Linked DNA regions of Homo sapiens: region 1 is linked to region 2. The links are contacts of gene promoters, found by promoter capture Hi-C in human tissues and cell types (Jung and others, 2019). All regions are on one chromosome and are shown on one strand. Each heading gives the region's core, a stretch centred on a gene start or on the middle of the fragment in contact. The rest is flanking DNA. Distances are from core to core; before and after follow the strand shown. Region 1 overlaps MAP3K19 (mitogen-activated protein kinase kinase kinase 19). Region 2 holds the start of LCT (lactase).

Region 1 (6,958 bases), core at 2,144-4,643, 830 kb after region 2:
CCTGCATTCAGAAAAAATTTAAAAACTCCCACAAATTAGGAACAGATAGGCTAATAGAAAGTGGGCAAAAACTTGATCAGACACTTAGCAAAAAAAAGATGTCTAAATGGCCAACAAAATATATTAAAAGATGCTCAGCTTTTAGTCATTAGATAAATGTAATTTTAAACAACAATGTGATAACACTGCACATCCACAGAATGATTACAATTTTACAAGTTGGGAAATATCAAGTGTTGACAAGGATGTAGGGCAACAAGAACTTTCATGCACTGCTGATGGGAGAATGAACTGTTAGAATAATTTAGAAAGCTGTCTTTTGGTGTCTGTTAAAGAGAAATATATGCATACTCCATAATCCAGCAATTCTGCTCCTAAATACATACCTAACAGAAATGCATCATATGTTTACCATAAGCTACATATTATAATGATCATAGCAGCACTATTATAATAGCCCCCAAATGGAAAATACCCAAGTGCCTATCAAGAATAGAAAGGATACATAAATTGTGGTATATTCACATAGTGTAAAACTACACATAAATGAGAATGAGAGTGAATGATCTAAAATTACATGCAAAAATACAGATGAATCTCACAAATACACTGTTGAGCAAAAGAAACCAGACATAAAAAATTAAATCCTGTATGGGTCTATTTATATAAAAACAAAAGGAGGAATAACAAAGCTAATCTATGGTGTTAGAATTCAGAATAGCACTTGCATGAGAGTGTTCTTTGGGGATATTGGTAGTGTTCTTTTATTTGATCTGGGTCCTGGATACACAAATGTATTGGGTTTATTAAAATTAATCTATACACATATGGTAAGTGAACTTTTCTGAATGTATGCTATACTAAAATCAAAAGTAATGGAAAAGGGGTGGAGTAGGGAATGTCTTCAAATATCTGACACACACAAAAAAGAATATGGTTTTCAGCCAGGCATGGCTGTGGATACCTGTACCTGTGGTCCCAGCTACTCAGGAGGCTGAGATGGGAGGATAACTTGAGCCCAGGAGTTTGAGACGAGCCTGGACAACATGCCTTTTTTTTTTCTTTTCTTCTTTTTTGGAGACAGGGTCTCACTCTGTCACCTAGGCTGGGGTGCAGTGGCCAGTGGCATGATCACAGCTTACTGCAACCTCCGCCTTCCAGGCTTCAGCAAACCTCCCACCTCAGCCTCCTAAGTAGCTGGGATTACAGGCATGCTCCACCAGGCTCCGCTAATTTTTGCATTTTTTTGTAGAGATGGGGTTTCACCATGTCACCCAGGCTGATCTCGAACTCCTGGCCTGAAGTGATCTGCCCACCTCAGATTCCCAAAGTGCTGGGATTACAGATGTGAACCACTGGCCCGAATGAATGTGGTTTTCAAACTAGGATTCTATGCCCAAACAAACTCTCAGTTAAGCATTAGAGTTGAATAAAGACATTTTTCAGACACAGAAATCTCAAACATATTACTTCTGATATACCTTTTAAGGAAGCTACTAAGTGCTCTATTAAATTGAAAAAGTAAATAAAGAAAGAGGAAAAAATAGGATCTGTGACTCAGAGGATCAAGAGAGAGGAGGGAATCATTGGTATAATGAAGAAGGCAGGTCCCAGGACTTCAGCTAATTAGCAACTCTAGAAAACAAAGAGCTCAGATGATTGGGGGATTGGGGTGGGGGCAGGGAGCAGGACAGAGGAGGGAAACAGAACAGATATTGTTGTCTGATAAATTTCACCAAGTGGCAAGACCATTGTAGGTTGGGAAGATTTAGGCTTTAAATAAAAGGACATAAGAAAGTAAATAAAATAAACCAACTAGAAATTAAAAAACCAAGGGATGAGGGGAAGGAAGGATGAATAGGCAGAGCAAAGAAGATTTTTAGGGCACTGAAACTACTCTGTATGATTCTATAATGGTGGATACAGGTCATTATACATTTGTTCAAACCCATAGAATGTACAACACCAGGAGTGAACCTTAATGTTAACTACAGACAACTGTAACAAATGTACCACTCTGGAGGGCGATGTTAATAATGGGTGAGGCTGTGCATGTATGGGAGCAGGGGGTATATGGGAAATCCCTATACCTTGTTCTTCTTCTTCTTCTTCTTTTTTTTTTTTTTGGGACGGACTCTTACTCTGTCGCCCAGGCTGGAGCGCGATCTTGGCTCACTGCAACCTTCACCTCCTGGGTTCAAGTGATTCTTCTGCCTCAGCTTCCTGAGTAACTGGGGTTACAGGCATGCACCACCATGTCTGGCTAATTTTTGTATTTTTAGTAGAGACAGGGTTTCACCATGTTGACCAGGCTGGTCTCAAACCCTTGACCTTAGGAGATCCATCCACCTTGGCCTCCCAAAGTGTTAGGATTACAGGCGAGAGCCACTGTGCCCGGCCTATACCTTCCTCTTAATTTCTCTGTGAACTTAAAATGTCCCTAAAAATAAAGTCTATTCAAACAAACATACAAACAAACAAACAAACAAACAAGGGTTTGGGGGTTTGTTCTGGAAAATAAAACAGTTATACAAGAAAGAAAGCATAATCATACTATATTACAATTGTACTACTACATAGTACAATATCCTCATAATCAAAATTAGCCATTGACTATTGATTTAACAGCAAAGAAGGTAAATGTATTGGGAGGATGGAGGCAGGGCATAAGAACATTAAATTATTAACTGCCATAATAAGTCAATAGATGATGCCTCACTTTGATGAATCAAGAGACAGCATGATAACTATGCAGAAATACGGAAGAAAATACCAAAAGAAACAGCTAAAAGTTTGGAAGTGGTTGCCTCTGAGGAAAACGGTGACTGTTTTTCTCGGTATAAGTCTTTTACCATTATTTGATTTTTTTTACATGTGCAGTTTAATTTTGATAAAAATTAAGTGAAAATTAAAAATAAACGGTTAAATCAAGACTTCTCTGGGACATGGGATGGGATGAGCTACCATGGAAACATTCCTTTTTAAATCCTATTTGAATATTTTAGCTTTGCGCATTTATAAATTTTCTAAGTAGTTTAGTCTGCTTCCTACCAAAGTGGAATTTAGTACCCTGGTTCCCAACAAGGGAGTGATTCCCAGCGCCCACCTCCCACCCCTCCCACCCTAGGGGGTCATTTGACAATGTTTGCAGACATTTCTGGTATCATCACTAGGGGAGAATGCAACTGGCATCTTGTGGGTACAAGCCAGGGACGCTCCTAAACATCCTATCAGACACACGACAGCCCCCACAGCCAAGAATTATCTGGTCTTGAATGTCAACAGTGCAGAGACTGAGAAATTTGCTACATGTTGTCACAATATTGAAGGTTGCACTGTGTTTGGTTACTAATATTATATAGTAATCAAAATAAAATACCTAGAGACAAATCTTTAAGGTGAGTGTCATGCATAAGATATTGATAAACAAAAACATACTTTTTATTTTTATGGTCTATTTAAGCAATTTTCTTTTTAAAAGGACTAACTATATCACTTCATATTAATACATTGAAATAAATGTTTAAAAACATTTTTGTAGAGATGGGGTCTCACTATGTTGCCCAGGCTGGTCTCAAACTCCTGGCCTCAGCCAGGTGTGGTGGCATGCACCTGTAGAACCAACTACTTGGGAGGCTGAGGCAACAGGATCATTCAAGCCCAGGAGTTCAAAGTTACAGTGAGCTATGATCACACCACTGCACTCCAGCCAGGATGACAGAGGGAGAGTCTGTTTCTAAAAAACAAACAAACAAACAAACAAACAAACAACATCAAACTCTTAGTCTCAAGAGATTCTCCCACTTCTGTCTCCTAAAGTGCAGGAATTACAGGTGTGAGCCACCGTGCCTGATCAGTACATTTTTTGAGGCAACTTTAAGACTTTTTTTTTTTTTTTTTTGAGACAGAGTCTCGCTCTGTCGCCCAGGCTGGAGTACAGTGGCGCGATCTCGGCTCACTGCAAGCTCCGCCTCCCGGGTTCACGCCATTCTCCTGCCTCAGCTTCCCGAGTAGCTGGGACTGCAGGGGCCCGCCACTACGCCTGGCTAATTTTTTGTATTTTTAGTAGAGACGGGGTTTCTCCGTGTTAGCCAGGATGGTCTCGATCTCCTGACCTCGTGATCCACCCGCCTTGGCCTCCAAAAGTGCTGGGATAACAGGCGTGAGCCACCGCGCCTGGCAAAACTTTTTTTAAAAACCTTTCATTAGGTGTTTTTTCTTATTGTAGCCGAAATAAAGTTTAAACTCCTTTTTGAGGGAGAAATGGACTTTTTCAGTATTATATTTGCCTTTCCTTCCCTAGTGGTTTAACTGGGGTTTAAATCCCTTTCACTCTTTTCTTTAAATGAAAGCTTTGTTTTCTTTTTGGTTGTCTGAAATAGGTTTTTATAGTTTACAAATATAAGCAGCTGCCTTGCATGTAGGACAGCTCCAGAGAGGCTCGTTATAGACTCGCCCAGTCATCTTTTTTCACCTGAGGAGAATCTTCTTTCAAAATTTTATCATAGGCTGGATATGGTGGCTCATGTCTGTGATCTCGGCACTTGGGGAGGCTGAAGTGGGAAGATCCCTTGAGTCCAGGCATTCGAGACACCCCTGGGCAACATAATAAGACTTTGTCTCTACAAAAAAATTAAAAAATTAGCTGGTTATGGGGGCGTGCCTCTGTAGTTCCAGTTACTTCCTGGAGGCTGAGGTGGGAGAACCACTTGAACACAGGAGTTTGAGGCTGCAGTGAACTATAATTGTGCTGCTGCATTCCAGCCTCGGCGACAGAGTGAGCTCCCATGTCTCTAAAATATAAAAATAAAAAAACTTTAATCACGTCTGATTTCCATCGTGCCTTTACATTCTGTATGTTTGGTATGCTGTTGTCTGCAGGCTAGAATGCGATGCTCTATTTCTTATCCATCTATCAGCTCCCGTGGTGTTGTCAATGGTTTATGAAATCCATCTATGTTTGGGACTTGCTATTCTGATGTTTTCTCTCTTTTACTCACTCCTAGATGACACTATTTCAATTCTCCTCCTTGTGGCACCCAAGCACATCTTAAAGTCATTGCTGGTTAGATTTATAAAATAAGTTAGAAAATTCTGAGCTGTTTCTGTTTGAGTCTTCACTTCCGTCATCACCTTCAAAGTAGATCTTACTCCCTACATCCTTTTTGATTGTGATACTTATGGTTTTTCAGTTTGTTCCAGGGTTTAAATTTTTGTCAGGTACTTATAGGGATCACACATCTTTTATTATTATTTTTTCTATGCAAAACTTATCAATTAGGTTTGAGTATCCTTTCCCTTTATTTTGCTCATTAATTCTTTTTTTTTTTCTGGTTCTTGTTGAAATTCATTGTTTCAAACTTTTCATGCTAACAAGATCACTGAGTGGTCACAACCTCTGGACCCAGATTTCACAGTCTGGGTGTAAATTCTGGCTCTGCCACTGGCTAGCTGTGTGACCTCGTGTAAGCTACTTAACTTTTCTGGGCCTCAGGTACAAAATGAAGATAATAGATCCTAACTTTAGAGTTGTGAGGATTAAATTAGTTAACCCATTTATGCTTAGTGTTCCATTATTGGAACGGTGAGCTTGTGGGGGTTATTTATATCCCACTGCTCAAGGTCATTGCCAAGGTCTGATTTTTCACACAAAAAAATTTGCAACCTCCGAGATAAATGGGTTAATATGTGTAACGCATATAGAACAGTGTCTGGTACTATATATGTAAATGCTAGTCATCATTATGGATTTTGTAGGTGGGTATGACCACACTGCCGGCTTCCAACTTTTCCTACAGGACCAACTGACAAATGAACTGAGTAGCTGAGATTGACCACAGCCCAGTAATCAACATGGAAACTTGATGTGAGAACCTGCTGTATGACTAACACTTCCAAATGAAGGCTGCTGTTTTCTCAAAGCTCAGCATAAAAATTTCACTGAATCACTGTAATTAAATGAAATGGTAGAAATGTGTTTTGAGGTCTCTTAGAGTGTTCTAGACTAAGGATCTACACAAAAACTATATATAATACTAAAAAAGAAAAATTCAAATGACCCATAAGCATCTAAAACTATCTCCAACTTTTCTATTAATCAAAGTATGAACATTCAAACAATAATAAGAAGACCAATTCCATCTATTACATTAAATATAATAAAATGAAAAGTCGGCCAGACGTGGTGGCAGGTGCCTGTAATCCCAGCTCTTTGGGAGGCAGAGGGAGGTGGATTACTTGAGATCAGGAGATCGAGACCAGCCTGGTAAACATATTGAAACGCCATCTCTACTAAAAATACAAAAAAAAAAAAAAAAAATTAGCCAGGCATGGTGGTGGGCACCTGTAACCCCAGCTACTTGGGAGGCTAAGGCAGGAGAATCGCTTGAACCTGGAAGGTGGAGTTTGCAGTGAGCCGAGATTGCACCACAGCACTCCAGCCTGGGCAACAGAGCAAGACTCTGTCTCAAAAAATAAAAAATAAAATGAAAAGGGGCAGGGCATGGTGGTACATACTTATAGTTCCAGCTACTCAGGAGGCTGAGGTGGGAGGATCACCTGAGCCCAGGAGTTCAAGGCTGCAGTGAGCCATGATAGTGCCACTGCATTCCAGCCTGTGTGCCAGAGTGAGACACTGCCTCAAAATAATAACAATAATCATATAAACACCTGTGAAAAGAAGGGAAAACAATAATAATTAATTAATTAATTAAATGAAAAGGAATGATGATAAGGGAGAAGATATGATATAGCACATTCATGCACTGCTGGTGGATTATAAATAGGGATAAACTTTACTTTTAAGGCAATGTGTGTACAAAAAAACAACTTTTTCATAGTATTTGGGTCAATAATTCCATATCTAGGGATCTACTCTAAAGAAATAATGCAAAATTGGGGTATTAGTTGCAAATATTTAATAATACTATGTGTAAGAGTGAAGAATTTTAAATTACCT
Region 2 (6,607 bases), core at 1,998-4,497:
ATTTCTTTCTACTGTACCCTGATTATTACTTCCATCTACTTCTGAATGTGAGACTTTCCCTTTTTGCTTAACCTGGAGTGAAGAGGTAGAACTGTGGTATTATGGATGAGGTTTCTATGAGAAGGAGTCATTAGAGAACTCATATGAAAGCTAGAGGCCTTAGAGATGACTTTCCAAGGTTAATTCCAGTTGTTTTTTTTTTTTTTTAAGTTTATAAAAGTTTATTATACTTTTTTAAAATTACTCTTTAGTAATTTATTTTACTTCTGTGTCCTAAGGGTAATTTCTCAGGATTGTTTTCAAATTGCTTTTTTAGGGGAAATAGGTCATTTGCTATATTACAAGCAATCCCCAAATTTTATGGTCTTCCAGGAAAAGTTATTACCGTTTATGATACTAACAGTTCCTGAGACTTAGCTATGATCAGTATGTTCATGAGGTGGAGCAGTTCCTGTGTTGCAGCTTTTAACAACAGATGGCATTCATTAAATCACAAAGTATGTTAAAGGTCACAAAAGCAAAATAACTGTCTGAGGCTAAGGCCCACGTGGGACAGTCTAATACCCATGAGTACTCAACTTGCCTTGATGTCTGAGCTTTCCAGTGCAATGTGAATTTGAGCAGCCAGAAATCTATTAGTAGAAAGCAAGACAGATTAATATAGGTTAAAACAATGATTTAAATATGTTTCTCCCAATAATTATCTCTTTCCCTGGAATCAACTTGTATGAAACCTTGTCAAAATGTACTCCACAAGTATGTACAATTAAGTATTTTAAAAATAAATGGCAAACATTAAAAACAAGAGTGAATACTCAAGTAGATTTGTCATGGGATTTTTATAAGAAGACTGGTATCAGGTAATGTATCTTTAAAGACTAGGCTGCTCTGCTGACGTAGTAACCATTTTTTATTCCTTTACTTTCCTAATAGCCTTGCTTTCACTTAAGAAAAAAAAAGGCTAGGCACGGTGGCTCACGCCTGTAATCCCAGCACTTTGGGAGGCCAAGGTGAGTAGATCACCTGAGGTCAGGAGTTCGAGACAAGCCTGGCCAACGTGGAGAAAACCTGTCTCTACTAAAAGTACAAAAATTAGCCAGGCATGGTGGTGGGCACCTGTAATCCCAGCTACTCAGGAGGTTGAGGCAGGAGAATTGCTTGAACCCAAGAGGTGGAAGTTGCAGTGAGCTGAGATCATGCCACTGCCCTCCAGCTTGGGCGGCAACAACAACAACAAAAAAAGATTCCCAGGCTTCACCCTCTACAGTCTATGGAAAGTCATGGGAGTCTATTAAAAAAAAACAGACACTATAAACCAAATTAAAAGATGGGAAAATTTTTCTATCACGTTTTAATATGTGATATCCAAACTCCCATTAAGAATTTTTATATCAGTAATAAGATAAAACTCAGAAGAAAAATGCCCAATTAACAAGAAGAGCTTCACCTCTTAAATAATCAGAAAAAGAAAAGCACATAATATTTACGTCAAAGTATCAAAAATGTAAAAGTTTTATAATAGGCATTAGCAAGGCAGACGGATACAGGCACACATCTAACTCTATGTAGGATTTAACTTGGAAGACAATTTGCATTTCAATCAATCAAAAACCATTTTTTTTTTTGAGATGATCTCCCTGTGTTGCCCAGACTGGCCTCAAGCTCCTGGGCTTGAGCAGTCCTACAGTCTGAGCCTCCAAAAGTACTGGCAAAACAGGCGTGATTGACCATGCCCAGCCTGTATATAAGGATATTCATTTGCAGCATTGTTTGCAACACAAAAATGTAAAACCAACCGGTGTTTAATATGCAAGATGTTAATTTATGGTACATTCTTGCTGTGGAAAGCTATGCATCTGTTAGAGGTGGGTCTATATGTTCTGATACAGGCAGAACTCTAAGAGCTATTAAGTGAAGAAAAGGCTGAAAATACATATGGCATAATTCCATATATGTTAAATTGTTCTATATTTTAAATGTTATACACGTTTCCATTTGTATTTACGTAATAATAATGATCCCTGAGCTGTACTGTTGTATACATGCTACAAGAAAGACCCATTTAATCCCCACAGCCTATGATGAATTATCCACATTCTACAGGTGACAAAATAGAGGCACAAAGTTAAGTAATTTTTGTCAGGTGAGATTTAAACCCAGGCATTCTGACTCCTGTATAACCATTAAGATATGCAGAGAAAGAAAACTGGAAAGATACATATTGCTGAAGATACTTATTATAGGAAGAGGAGGGGGGAGGGTGAAGGAATTTGCAAGTTTTTCATAGATGTTTCCATATTGTTTGAATCTCTTACAAAATATGTTCAGCATATTTTTAAAGAGAAAATTTGGGGCAAAATACTTATTTTTGTATTATGTAAACAAATTTTAAAATAATGTGTGGCTGGGTGCGCTGGCTCACACCTGTAATCCCAACACTTTAGGAGGCTGAGGCAAGAGGATTGCTTGAGCCCAGGAGTTCAAGACCAGCCTGGGTGACATGGCAAAACTCCATCTCTACTAAAAATACAAAAAATTAGCCAGTCGTGGTGGCGCACACCTATGGTCCCACCTACCCAGGATGCTGAGATGGGAGGATCACTTGAGCCCAGGAAGTCAAGGCTGCAGGAAGCTGTGATCGCACCACTGCACTCCCACCTGGGCAACAGAGTGAGACCCGGTCACCAAAAAACAAAAAAAACAAAAAAAATTGGTAATCGTTTTCTTCAGACATTTTCCGGGTTCCTCTGCTTAACTTGTATAGGAAGTCTGAGGTTTTTGTGTTGGTCTTTACCTTTTTTTTTTTTTTTTTTTTTTAAGATGGAGTCTCATTCTGTTGCCCAGGCTGGAGTGCAGTGGCATGATCTTGGCTCCTGCAACCTCCGCCTCCTGGGTTCAAGTGATTCTCCTGCCTCAGCCTCCTGAGTAGCCGGGACTACAGGCGCATGCCACGATGCCTGGCTAATTTTTTGTATTTTTAGTAGAGATGGGGTTTCACCATGTTAGCTAGGACGGTCTCGATCTCCTGACCTCGTGATCCGCCCACCTCGGCCTCCCAAAGTGCTGGAATTACAGGTGTGAGCCACCACGCCCGGCCCTGATCTTTACATTTTTAAATATTGCATTAGTGAACCGTGTACTGATTTTGTGATCATAGATAACCCAGTTAAATATTAAGTCTTAATTATCACTTAGTATTTTACAACCTCAGTTGCAGTTATAAAGTAAGGGTTCCACATACCTCCTAACAGTTCCTAGAAAATGGAGCTGTCTTGGCATGTAGTCTTTATTGCCCTGCTAAGTTTTTCATGCTGGGGGTCAGACTGGGAGTCTGATAGAAATTTCATTTCCACCGCTGGTCCTCTAACCAATGACTTGCTGCACAACCTGAGTGGTCTCCTGGGAGACCAGAGTTCTAACTTTGTAGCAGGGGACAAAGACATGTATGTTTGTCACCAGCCACTGCCCACTTTCCTGCCAGAATACTTCAGCAGTCTCCATGCCAGTCAGATCACCCATTATAAGGTATTTCTGTCATGGGCACAGCTCCTCCCAGCAGGAAGCACCCAGAATCCAGACGAGAAAACAGTGCAGTGCTACCGGCGACTCCTCAAGGCCCTCAAGACTGCACGGCTTCAGCCCATGGTCATCCTGCACCACCAGACCCTCCCTGCCAGCACCCTCCGGAGAACCGAAGCCTTTGCTGACCTCTTCGCCGACTATGCCACATTCGCCTTCCACTCCTTCGGGGACCTAGTTGGGATCTGGTTCACCTTCAGTGACTTGGAGGAAGTGATCAAGGAGCTTCCCCACCAGGAATCAAGAGCGTCACAACTCCAGACCCTCAGTGATGCCCACAGAAAAGCCTATGAGATTTACCACGAAAGCTATGCTTTTCAGGGTGAGTACACATTGACCTGATGGTGACCCCTCGGCAACCTTCATCACACACCTTCCCCATCCTCCTTAGAGCAGATTCGACATTTCTCCCAACTCACCTTCAGCAGTCCTCTTATGTCTGTGCATAGGGAGAAATTAATATTGTAAATTGATTTCCCACTGGCGATAGGAAGGGGTAGCTAACATGGCAAAACACTCAGCATTTCCTTTGAAAAATATCTTTGAGGCTCACGCCTGTAATCCTAGCACTTTGGGAGGCCGAGGTGGGCGGATCACTTGAAGTCAGGAGTTCGAGACCAGCCTGGCCAATATGGCAAAACCCCGTCTCTACTAAAAATACCAAAATTAGCCAGGGATGGTAGCAGGCGCCTGTGATCCCAGCTACTCGGGAGGCTTAGGCAGGAGAATTGCTTGAACCCAGGAGGCAGATGTTGCAGTGAGCCGAAATCATGCCACTGTACTACAGCCTGTGCGACAGAGCAAGACACAATCTCAAAAAAAAAAAATATGTATACATATATATATATATATATATATATATATATATATATATACACACATGTATTTTTGAAATACCCCTTGCCCAGTCTTGAGTTGTGCAAGCACTGATTGTCTTTCTGTCTTCCTTTCCGTCTATGTCCTGCTACCCTGACTTGGAGGCAAAGTTTCGTGGTTTCCTGTCCTTCCCCCTCGGCTCCCCTATACTTACATGTCTTAGTTGGAGCTTACATTGCAGCTTGGGAGACAGACAAATACAAGATGAAACAATTATATATCACAGGATGAGGAGAGCACAACTGTAACTGTTCACATTCCTGCCTCCTAGGGGACTTGAAGTTCTGATCTGTAGGCCTAGGCTGAACCAGGACATTTGTGATTATAATCAATTCCCTAAGTGTATGTTAGGTACACCAATTTTGAGAATCAATTTTGGATTATATATGCTTTCTTGTTTTTATTATATACCATATACATACATATTTGTATATATAGTACCTGATATATATATATATATATATATATATATATATATATATATATATATATACTTCTATGTTCTACTTTTTCATTTTAACATAGTTTATGACTATATTCTCATTTTATTAAAAACTTGAGCCAGGCATGGTGGCTCATGCCTATAATCCCAGCACGTTAGGAGGCCAAGGCAGGGGGATTGCTTGAGGCCAGGAGTTGGAGACCAGCCTGGGCAACATAGAGAGCCACTATCTCTAAAATAATATAATAATTTACTCCAGTGCTGGAATAGTATTGCTTAAAACAAAAGAAAAACTTGAAAGCATAACTTTCAATGGTCTTTTAGGTTCCCATTGTATAAATGGAGCATAAAGTTTAAGGTATTTTCCTTATTTTTGTATGTTTATTCTAATTTTCACTAGTTACAAGTTATGTTGCAATGACATTCCTATCTATAAACTATTTCCCACCTTCTGATAAATTCTTTCTGACAGAATCTTAGAATTGAAACTACTAGGTGAAAAGATCTGCATTCTTTAAGATTTTAAAGCATGGTACTAAATTATTTTCCAGAAAAGTTGTAATCATTTATACGAACAGTTATAAAATTACTCTCTGACCCCATTCTGTCAGTTTCAAATGCTATATTTTATTACTAATTTGACAGCTGAAAACAGCTTATTTTCATGTCTTGTTAATTTGCATGTATTTGATTATAGAGACGTTAAACATTTTTTTCTTCTTCTTTTTTTTTTTTTTTTTTTTTTTGAGATGGAGTCTCACTCTTTTGTCCAGGCTGGAGTGCAGTGGTGTGATCTCGGCTCACTGCAACCTCTGCCTCCCGAGTTCAAGCAATTCTCCTGCCTCAGCCTTCCCAGTAGCTGGGATTACAGGCACGCACCACCACATCTGGCTAATTTTTGTATTTTTAGTAGAGATGGGGTTTCACCGTGTTGGCCAGGCTGGACTCAAACTTCTGATCTCAGGTGATCCGCCCGCCTCGGACTCCCAAAATGCTGGGATTACAGGCGTGAGCCACCACGCCCGGCCTTAAACAAAAAAATAAAATAAGGCCAGGCGTGGTGGTTCACGCTTGTAATCCCAGCACTTTGGGAGGCTGAGGCAGGCGGGTCACAAGGTCAGAAGATCGAGACCATCCTGGCTAACACGGTGAAACCCCATCTCTACTAAAAATACAAAAAATTAGCGAGGCGTGGTAGCACGTGTCTGTAGTCCCAGCTACTCAGGAGGCTGAGGCAGGAGAATCGCTTGAACCTGGGAGGCGGAGGTTGCAGTGAGCCGAGACTGCGCCATTGCACTCCAGCCTGGGCGACAGAGCGAGACTCTGTCTCAAAAATAAATGAAAAATAAACTAGGACATCATAGCTGCCTTATTCACAATAGCCAAAAGGTGGAAGCAACCCAGATATCCACTGATGGATGAATGGATAAACGAGACGTGGCATAGACATAAAATGGAATATTACTCCACATTTATTAAAAAGGGAAGAAATCATCACATGCTACAACATGGATGAACCTTGAGGACATTATGCTATGTGAAATAAGCCAGACACAAAAAGACAAACGCTGTATGATTCCATGTATAGGAGGAAACTAGAGCAGTCGAATTCATGGAGAGAGGAAGGAGAATGGCAGAGGCCAGGGGCTGGGGTAGGGGAGAAATGGAGAGCTCTTTAATGGGAGTAGAATTTCTGTTCAGAAAAATGAA

The links. The method cuts DNA at HindIII sites, captures the fragments that hold promoters and counts their contacts. A contact is called where the count stands out against the background at its distance.
Region 1: a contact is called between a fragment that was not itself captured here and the fragment with the promoter of LCT in region 2, in 2 of the 25 tissues and cell types used here (lymphoblastoid cells and mesendoderm cells).

The regions. Positions count from the first base shown.
Region 1 is chr2:135,008,480-135,015,437 of GRCh38, reverse strand. All of the region lies in intron 5 of MAP3K19 (mitogen-activated protein kinase kinase kinase 19), which reads left to right. Among named protein-coding and RNA genes, the nearest start is that of MAP3K19, 35 kb to the left of the region's middle. The HindIII fragment of the contact is 8,965 bases long and covers 1-6,958 here.
Region 2 is chr2:135,833,824-135,840,430 of GRCh38, reverse strand. LCT (lactase) reads left to right here and starts at 3,247. Exons shown (of 17, transcript NM_002299.4): 1 at 3,247-3,901. The coding sequence starts at 3,262. MCM6 (minichromosome maintenance complex component 6) reads left to right here. Exons shown (of 17, transcript NM_005915.6): 17 at 1-805. The HindIII fragment of the contact is 17,432 bases long and covers 1-6,607 here.